Regions from separate parts of the Homo sapiens genome. Here all the other regions are linked to region 3. The links are contacts of gene promoters, found by promoter capture Hi-C in blood cells and fetal thymus (Javierre and others, 2016). All regions are on one chromosome and are shown on one strand. Each heading gives the region's core, a stretch centred on a gene start or on the middle of the fragment in contact. The rest is flanking DNA. Distances are from core to core; before and after follow the strand shown.

The links. The method cuts DNA at HindIII sites, captures the fragments that hold promoters and counts their contacts. A CHiCAGO score of 5 or more calls a contact.
Region 1: a contact is called between a fragment that was not itself captured here and the fragment with the promoter of TMSB10 in region 3, in 3 of 17 cell types (non-activated CD4 T cells, naive CD8 T cells and naive CD4 T cells). The highest score is 9.9, in non-activated CD4 T cells.
Region 2: a contact is called between a fragment that was not itself captured here and the fragment with the promoter of TMSB10 in region 3, in 1 of 17 cell types (non-activated CD4 T cells). The highest score is 7.5, in non-activated CD4 T cells.

Annotation. Positions count from the first base shown.
Region 1 is chr2:84,779,601-84,782,812 of GRCh38, forward strand. It overlaps DNAH6 (dynein axonemal heavy chain 6), which reads left to right. Exons shown (of 77, transcript NM_001370.2): 65 at 1,893-2,053. Among named protein-coding and RNA genes, the nearest start is that of TRABD2A, 100 kb to the right of the region's middle. The HindIII fragment of the contact is 2,520 bases long and covers 293-2,812 here.
Region 2 is chr2:84,839,241-84,842,227 of GRCh38, forward strand. It overlaps TRABD2A (TraB domain containing 2A), which reads right to left. Exons shown (of 7, transcript NM_001277053.2): 3 at 2,621-2,767; 4 at 1-83. Among named protein-coding and RNA genes, the nearest start is that of TRABD2A, 40 kb to the right of the region's middle. The HindIII fragment of the contact is 1,468 bases long and covers 909-2,376 here.
Region 3 is chr2:84,904,180-84,907,129 of GRCh38, forward strand. It overlaps TMSB10 (thymosin beta 10), which reads left to right and starts at 1,477. Exons shown (of 3, transcript NM_021103.4): 1 at 1,477-1,539; 2 at 1,824-1,938; 3 at 2,210-2,492. The coding sequence starts at 1,839. The coding sequence ends at 2,244. It overlaps LOC105374836 (a long non-coding RNA gene), which reads right to left and starts at 2,842. Exons shown (of 2, transcript XR_940308.3): 1 at 2,484-2,842. RefSeq lists a silencer at 1,234-1,773 and enhancers at 1,740-2,939, 2,744-2,803. The HindIII fragment of the contact is 2,703 bases long and covers 1-2,096 here.

The sequences.
Region 1 (3,212 bases), core at 303-2,802, 120 kb before region 3:
TGCCTGTTAAATGGGGTGTTTAGACCACTTATATCCAAGGTTAATATTGATATGTAAGGTTTTGATCCTATTGTGATGTTTTTAGCTGGTTGCTTTGTAGTCTTGATTGTGTAGTTGCTTTATAGAGTCTATGGGCTCTGGACTTAAGTGTGTCTTTGTGGTAGCAGGTATCACTCCTTCATTTCCGTGTTTAGAGCTCTTTTATGAATCTTTTGTAACGCTAGTCTAGTGGTAAAGAATTGCCTTAGCAATTGCTTATCTGGAAAAGCTTTTATTTCTCCTTTGCTTATGAAGCTTAGTCTGACAGGATATGAAATTGTTGGTTGGAATTTCTTTTCTTTAAGAATGCTGAATATAGTTCTGTTATCTCTTCTGGCTTGTAATGTTTTTGCTGAGAAGTCTGCTGTTAGCCTGATAGGACGACCTTTGTAAGGGATCTGACCTTTTCCTCTAGCTGCCTTTAAGAATTTTTTTTTTCACATTGATCATGGAAAGTTTGATGACTATGTGTCTTGGGGATGGTCATCTTATATAGTATCTCCCAGGGTTTCTCTGAATTTCTTGAAATTGCATGTCAACCTCCCTAGCAATATTGGGAAAACTGTCATGGACTATATTCTCAAATATGTTACCCGAGTTGTTTACCTTTTCTCCTGTCTCAGGAATGCCAGTATGGCATAGGTTTTATCTATTTGCATAATCTCATATTTCTCATAGCCTTTGTCCATTTTTTAAATTCTTTTTTCTTTATTTTTGCCTAACTGGGTTGTTTTGAGGGGACAGTCTTTGAGCTCTGAAATTCGTTTTTTGACTTGGCCTAGTATGTTGTTAATGCTTCCAATTGTATTTTGAAACTCCTGTGGTGAATTTTTCAATTCCAGGAGTTCAGTTTTGTTTTTTCTTCATATAGCTATGTCATCTTTCAACTCTTGGATCATTTTACTGGCTTCTTTGGACTGGATTTCAACTTTCTGTTAGATCTCATTGAGTTTCATTGCCATCCAGGTTCTGAATTCTATGTCTGTCATTTCAGACATTTCAATCTGGTTAGATACATTGCAATCTTTTAGAGGTAAGGAAACACTGATTTTTTGAATTGCCAGAATTCTTTTGCTGATTCCTAATTATCCAAGGGGGCTAGTGTTTATCATTTTCAAGTTTCTGTCATTTCGTTGAGGCTTTTTTTTTTGTATTCCTGTTTTCCTTTGAGGGCTTGACTGTGGTGTATGTTGTGTATAGTTCATTGGCTTTGTTTCTGGGTGCTTTCAGAGAGCCAACACTTTGCACAGGTTTCTTAGTTGTAGCTAGTTTCCCACATTGGCTTTCACAGATGTTGTGTGATTAATCAATGGCATTAGAATTCAAAATTGTTTTTGCCTTTTGGGATAAGGAGGGGTACTGTTTTTTGACCTAGGTGGTGGTACATGTGCACATTTGCGTTGTGAGAATTCATTGACCCATACACTAATAATATGTATTTTTCTGTATATGTTAGACTTTAATTTTTTAAGTGTTTAAAAACTGATCTATAGTGTTGTTAGAAGTTAGGATAATGATTACCTGTGGGAAGAAGGAAGGGGAAATCATTGCGGTGGAGAGAGGCATGAGAGAAATGTCTCTAGTGTATCAGCACAGGTCTCTTCTCAACCGCAGGTATTGATTTGTGATCATTTGTAGAGCTGTATATTCGGTTTTTGCACTTTTCTATGTGGGTCATGGTAAAAATATTTTTAAAAACAAGAAATAAGGAAAACATACTTGTACTCCTATTGGAATGAGGATTCAAAATGTTTATATATCCTAAGCAAGAGTCTACTGTATTTATATTTCTTCATATTGATTTTGCTTTAAAATAGCATAAGATGATATTGTGTTCTTGCTGTTCAATTCAGGGTGCAGTCAATTTCACTGGGGCAAGGACAAGGACCTATTGCTGAAAAAATGGTCAAGGATGCAATGAAATCAGGAAACTGGGTATTTTTGCAAAATTGCCATCTTGCTGTTTCTTGGATGTTGGCAATGGAAGAGCTCATTAAAACCTTCACAGATCCAGGTATGTTGAGCATATAGCCCTTGCATAATAATCACATTTTTATGTAACCTTTTCTTGTTGAATTCATTCCTTATAGTAATTCATTATTGTAGGCACTGTGTTTCCATATATGAAAGAGGAGAAATTTGAGGCCTAGACAGATTTAGCTAATTTACACAACCAGGGTTTGATAAAAGGCCTTCAGAATTCCAAGTTGAGGCTAGGATCCACTGGATCATTTCTGTTTCTTATTGCCTTCTATGAGAGGTCATTTGAATTTGAAATATATTACTTATAGGCATAATAAAAAGAAAAATATACTTAGGACAAACAAAGGAAATTAAATCCTTCCCTATAAAATGAGAAATGTAAAGGAACAGAGTTCAAATTACCACCAATTCCCTTAGAGTAGTGTTTTACCACCTTTTATCTTCTGTAACCCGCATGGCAACTAACCTTTACATGTGCCTCAGAGCCACACCTAACCCATGGGCGTGCTCAGCATTACTCATAGTTGCTAGCACTAGTTTTATCTCACCACTTTTTTGCCTACTCAAGAAAGTGTAACGGGCTGCAAAGAGAGGAAGTGGAATTAGAATCTACTCATTTTAAAGTGTTACTATAAAAATAATCAAAACCTCAGGAACTATTTTATTGGTAACAAATTGTGTGGGTCCCACTCTACCACTCTGCTGTGAAGCCCTGGGAGAGAACCTCCAGGCAAGCATATCCAGAGAGAGCCCTTTCTCTGAGGCCTTTATTTGTGCCCTCCCTACAGAAAGCTTTCTGGAAAGGTGAAAGCTCTGCAGATGATCTTGCAAATCACTTTATTTAGTGCTGCTTATTAAGGTGAAGAGCTGCTCCTTTACAGAGTCCCCAGTCTGCTCTGGTCACTGAGCCAGCTCAGGGTTTAGCAGCCTTCCCCTAAAAGCCCTTCACTTCCTGGCCCCCTGCCCTCACCCACAAGCCTTCTGCAGGCTGCTTCTGACAAAGGTAAGGACTCATTTTTATCCACCATTCAGAATCTCCACTATTTCCACTCTTTTGCTGTCAAATAAGAGAGGGCCTGCTTCCTGCTGGGCCTGTGGCTTATTTCTACTTAAATAATTAAAGAGAAATGACAAGGAGGTCTTCAGTACTGGTCAGGGGTCCCCAGTGATTAGGAATATAATTAAGAAAA
Region 2 (2,987 bases), core at 393-2,892, 65 kb before region 3:
AGCTCCCGGCGTAAGTAGCTGTCAATCTCCTGAGCAGTGATGCGCTCCTGAGGTGGTAGCGTGGCATTAATAAAATTGGGAACCTCCACCAAAATAAAGAGAAAAAAAAATAAGGGGCAACAGAGTTATTAACAAAGTTACTTCATTGGAGCATCAAATCCCCCAACCTAGATGGTCAAGACGTTGTCAAGAGAAGAGTGACACCATTCTTGGAGTTTCCTGTCTGCTATGTTTCCCACTCTATCACATTCCCTGTAACCAAAGTGAAAAAAATATTAAGTGAAGTGCATTGAATGAACTCTTACACTATTTACAACTGCACTTCTGTTTTAGTTAAATGGCTCTGTCTGATGCCGTGTGTTTATAAAAAAAAAAAAAGGACACTGTCTTTGCACAGTACATCCATAGTTTTAACTTGTGTGATTCATACATGCTTTTCTTATAAAAATAGTCTTATATAGTTACATATTTTAGATTCTATTACCGAAAACATGAAATTTGTATAAACACTTAAATGTTTTATAAATCCTCTACTTTACATTTTCATTATTTCTCCACTTCCTATTTCTCTCTCTTGCTTTCCCCAATGTTCTTTGCCCTCCTGGCAAATATTTCACTGATTCTGGTATACATGTTAGCCAGTTTCAGTATTTTGGCTAATAACAGGATGAAAGTGCATCAAAATTGTGACAATCAGCGTGGTTCTTGCAGCCCAGGAGCTACAGGTAAGGCTGGCACTCTGTGTTTTCTCCCCACCCCCTCAGCTGTCTGGCTTCCCAAACCTCAGCCTCCCACTCCTCCCCCTGGGTGCATGCTCTCTCCTCCACCCAGGGACTTAACAATGTTACCCATTATCTTGGTCAGTATCTACCCTGCCTGCTGCTGCTGCTTCCAGTAGCCTCTCAAAAAGCTTTCCAAAGTCCTCAGACTCTGTGACAGCATTAACTTCCATCTTATGGATAACAGATCTCCTTTTGCGACGGCCTCGAAATGATATTCTTTCATTTTCAAATCGACAGCCTTCATCTTCTACTCTGTCATCTTTTTTTTTAATCATGTCATTTATGTAAGATCCCCTGCCCATTTCCCAAAATCTCTTCTCTTCAGCAGAGCCCCCCTCTCTACCAGCCTCTCTACAGAGGCAGCGTCAGATACACAGGGTGACCTCCCTCTGACATCCTGCTCCACCTTCTAAATTCCAAACATCACCCAAAGCCTGCACCACTCCCTGCTGGCCAGCCTGGCCCTCACTCACAGTGACAGCACATTCCCTGACCTCCTGTAGGGGCCCTGTGGGCAGAACAGATATGGGAAAGCCACAGGAGAAAAATGCATAAGACATCTGTATTATCTGCTCCATCAGCCTCACCATTTGCCCACGTAATGACCAAATCCTCCGCCCACATTAACTTTTTTCTGCTGCTTCAAATGTCAATTTCCCAATTGATCTTGACTTTTCTCCCCCCTTCCCTACCCTCAGCAAGAGTGCAGGTAAGATTTATCACCACCACCAACTCTATTTTTCCTTCTTTAATGTGTTTCTTGTTCTCCCTTTCCTCCTGCTTCACTTTGTCTCAATTTGACTTTTTTTTCCTCTAGATTTTTGGGGATGCTCCTTACATCTTTTGAGGCTTCTGTCATTAATGAAATGTCACCTTTCTGGGCTGATGCTGCACTCAGCCTGTACTGTCCTTCTCCCCATTGCTGCTATTCCTCCTTCAGCTCTCATGTTCACACATGTCTCCTTATGGTTGGGTCCCCAGATTTAACATAGACCTGTACAGCATCACCCACACCCACTAGCTCCTGTCTCCCCTCTCCAGTGTCTTCATGCATGTGGACACCAGTCCTGGGTGGGGGAAACAACACACTCCCCTACCTCAGAAGTTTAGCTGGTGTTTGCTATTTGCATGTAGTCCTAGAGAGGAGGCGAAGGCACCATGGCTTGTCCCATGGGAAGCCTGTTGATAAAAGCATAACAAAGATCCGTACCACTTCCCTCCTGGAAGGAGACCATGATCTTCTGAGGCTGAGCAGCTACTTCCTTCCACTCAATGGCCCACAGGTAAGGCCTGAGCTGGGCAAACACTCAATCCACCAGCTCAGCCACACTCATCCTGCAATACCACAGGATGCAATGATCCACGTCTGCAAATGCTAGCAGCCTTCCCAGCTCTGATGCCCTAAGCCTGTAAGCATTCTGTGAATACACAGCTATATCATGTTCACATGTTCCTAGAGGCCACTGAAGCTGCAGTCAAAGTTCTGCCCCATCATTTTGCAAAAGTATGACCTAAGTCAGCCAGGAGGCCATCAGACTCAGAACCCTTCCCTTCCTCAAGGCTGGTTCATGTGGCCTACTGTTAAATCCTTTGAAGCTTCATCCTTTGGCTGGAATACTGGAATTAACCCTCATCAATGCCCCTCTCTGTTCTTACAAGGTTTGTAAAGCTTTCATTCGCTGTAGTGCCTCATTCAATGACATCTAAATCTGCCCACTTTATTTCTAGAGCCCTCATGACCTCAATCCTTTGTACACAGGATGTACATGTTGCCAGGTAATGTTTTTATTCCTATAATTAAATGTGTGCTGAGCTTGGCAGGGGGAAAGGGTGCTCACCTGGGAGCTGTCATGGCTGAGGATGACGGAGCTGAGGTCCCCGCAGTTATAGTGTTTGATGAGATCCTCCGTCGTGTAGGGGATCTGAAGACTGCCTGCTCGCAGGCTTTCCTGCTGCAGGAGGGTCTGGTTCAAAGCAAAGATGACCTAAAAGAAAGGTCTCTTTTAAGTTCACTAACAAGGCAACTGTTTGCTGCCATCTTATTTCTTTTGTCCATGGCTGGAAATACCTTCACCTTTGTGCTCGTTATGTAAGGACGTGGATAGTGCTACTTAAAAAAGGGAACACAAATCCCTGGACAGCATCCAAAGAAAAGGAGAACAGTCCTTCCCAAATCAGCCCCAATCAGACACACCTAGGGAACTG
Region 3 (2,950 bases), core at 227-2,726:
AAACTGAAGGAACGTGAGAAAAGCAGGTAAAATCAGGAGGGGAGAAGCAGGGAGTGGTGCTCAGGCTTGTAATCCCAGCACTTTGGGAGGTTAAGGCAGGCAGATGGCTTGAGCCCAGAAGTTCGAGACCAGCCTGGGCAACATGGTGAAATCTCGTCTCTACAAAAAGAACACAAAAGATTTGCCGCTAGTGGTGGTGCACGCCCGCAGTCCCAACTGCTCAGGAGGCTGAGGTGGAAGAATCACTTGAACCGGGGAAGTCCAGGCTGCCATAAGCCGTGATCACACCACTGCACTCCAGCCTGGGTGACAGAGTGAGACCCTGTCTCAAAAAAAGTAAATAAATAAAATCAGGACCGAATTTAGGATGTCACCACCAAATCCCACTTTAAAGAGCTCGGTAATACTTCACACTTAAAAAAGGAAAGGTCAGGACAAATAAAAGAATGACCAGCCTTAACTCCGGGGCTGGTAATTTATGGAACTTATTACCTAACGGTGTTGCACAGGCTGAAAATACAACTTTTCTAAGAAAGATGTGAATAATTGCAGTATACCACTCCTACAATGGGTTAATAAGAAAAACAAGAACGTTTGTAGGCATGTGGGTCTCTATTATCCTCAAGGTTAACTTCAAGGAGGAAAACCGCACCCGCTGATACAGTGTTTCTAGGAGCTCGACGAGAAAAGGCAAACTGCGAGCCTTCTCGGGACGCCCTGTTCCCACCACAGCCCTTCACACAATGCGTCTAACAGCATTTAAGGAACACCCGCCACGCCAACGATCCTGCTGGAACCGCCCAGTTCAGGGAACAGGGGACGACTGACCAGAAGGCAACCGCCCCCAACCTGAGCAAAGAGCGCTGGAAACCTATTCCCCCCTCCCCCTACACCCCCCCGCCCCCCGCTCCACTACGGGACCCTCGGCTCGAATTCTTTTAGTGCAGGACCACCTTAGGACTCAGCCTCCCTAAGGAGAGGAAAAGTGGGGGAGGGAAGGGGACTCTGGAGGAGCAAAAGCAAGAGGCCTGGGGGCGACTGGGGTGGGGCGTCTCCTAGAGCGAGGATTGCTGCAGAGTGCGCGTGCACGCCCGCACATCCACACCCACGGCTACACATCATATCTGCACACGCACAAAACCACACACCCTCCCACGCCGGTCCCATATCCTTTCTGCGGGGTGAGCAGCAGATTCCCGGAAAGGGGGAAATGTAGCCGCAAAAGCAAAGCCGGGGGCCTGGCGCCCACTCTGGCGGCGACTACAGCCCCCACGCTGGGCACACTGCGAGCTGGGGGTGCCCGGCGCGGGAGAAGCCGCGCCCAGCCGGGCTGGTAGCCCAGCGGGGGGCGCGGCAGGGCGAGGAGCAGCCCGCGCTGCTCCCGCCCCTCGGGTGCCAGCACCGCCCCTGCTGCGGCGGGTGAGGGGCGGGGCGGGGCGCGGCGTATATAAGGCTAGGGGCGGGCGCCGCTCTTTTGTTTCTTGCTGCAGCAACGCGAGTGGGAGCACCAGGATCTCGGGCTCGGAACGAGACTGCACGGTGAGTGCGGCGCCGGGGCGGGGGGCCCACCCAGGGTGTGGTCGGATCCGGTGCACCGGGCGGGCGCGCCGCAACCGCGACAGGCGCCCTTCTCGGACCGGACGCAGGGGCCGGCGACCACGCCCTGGGACCGAGAAGAGGGGTGCGGGACGCGCCCAGATCCTCGGCCTTGGGGCTGCTCGGCACGCCTTGGCGCGAGTGCCACGTCGAGAGGCGTCGGCGGGGAGCGCGGAAGGGGACGCTGGCCCCCAGGCCCAGGTCAAGCGCCTTGGTTTGCCCACTAGGATTGTTTTAAGAAAATGGCAGACAAACCAGACATGGGGGAAATCGCCAGCTTCGATAAGGCCAAGCTGAAGAAAACGGAGACGCAGGAGAAGAACACCCTGCCGACCAAAGAGAGTGAGTGTGCCTCGGTCTCCCGCGCCCCAGCCCAGCCCCTCACCCTGCTCTTCCTTGCAAACCCACTCCTCCACCCCCCACCCCGCCGTTGTCCCCGGTGTGGGCGGCCCCGGCCACTCTTTCAGTTTCACAAAGCGCCTTGTTTCTCCCCAGCCCCAAGCTTCCTTCTAAATCCCCACACCTCGTGGGTGCCTCGCCCACACCGGGAAGCACCTCGGTTGCGGGTGGGGGTTGCAGCTCCCCTCCAGCGCCCGCTTCCCGCTCTCCACAGCCATTGAGCAGGAGAAGCGGAGTGAAATTTCCTAAGATCCTGGAGGATTTCCTACCCCCGTCCTCTTCGAGACCCCAGTCGTGATGTGGAGGAAGAGCCACCTGCAAGATGGACACGAGCCACAAGCTGCACTGTGAACCTGGGCACTCCGCGCCGATGCCACCGGCCTGTGGGTCTCTGAAGGGACCCCCCCCCAATCGGACTGCCAAATTCTCCGGTTTGCCCCGGGATATTATAGAAAATTATTTGTATGAATAATGAAAATAAAACACACCTCGTGGCATGGCTGGCGTGGTCTGAGTCTTTTAGTTGAGTATGCGTGGGCAGTGCCACTGCAGCAAAGCCCCTCGATGGAGTAGAGTTCCTGCCGCAAAGGGGAGGAGGTGGGTCGCAGAATGGGCTGACTCGGAGGGAGTTTTTAATTTTGGCTTTACCTGCTTCTCCGTAAGATTTCATGACTTGTTAGCCACTTAACTCTTGCTCGTAAGCAATCTGTGTAAAATTTAACCCCACTTTGTCCCCAGGTTGCGTTGGAAAATGCTTTTTCAAAAGAGCAAGGTTTGCTTTTGATAAGCTTCGAAAGCCCCACTGTTTCCCTCTGGCCTCCTCCTAGCTGACTCAGAAGGGAACACTGATTTTAAAGAAAGAAAAGACAATCTGGAATGTTGGAAATTGGGTGAGGTCACAAAGTCTCCGGAAGCCTTTCTTCGGGAGCTTAAAACAAAGGCGGGATCTAGGGAT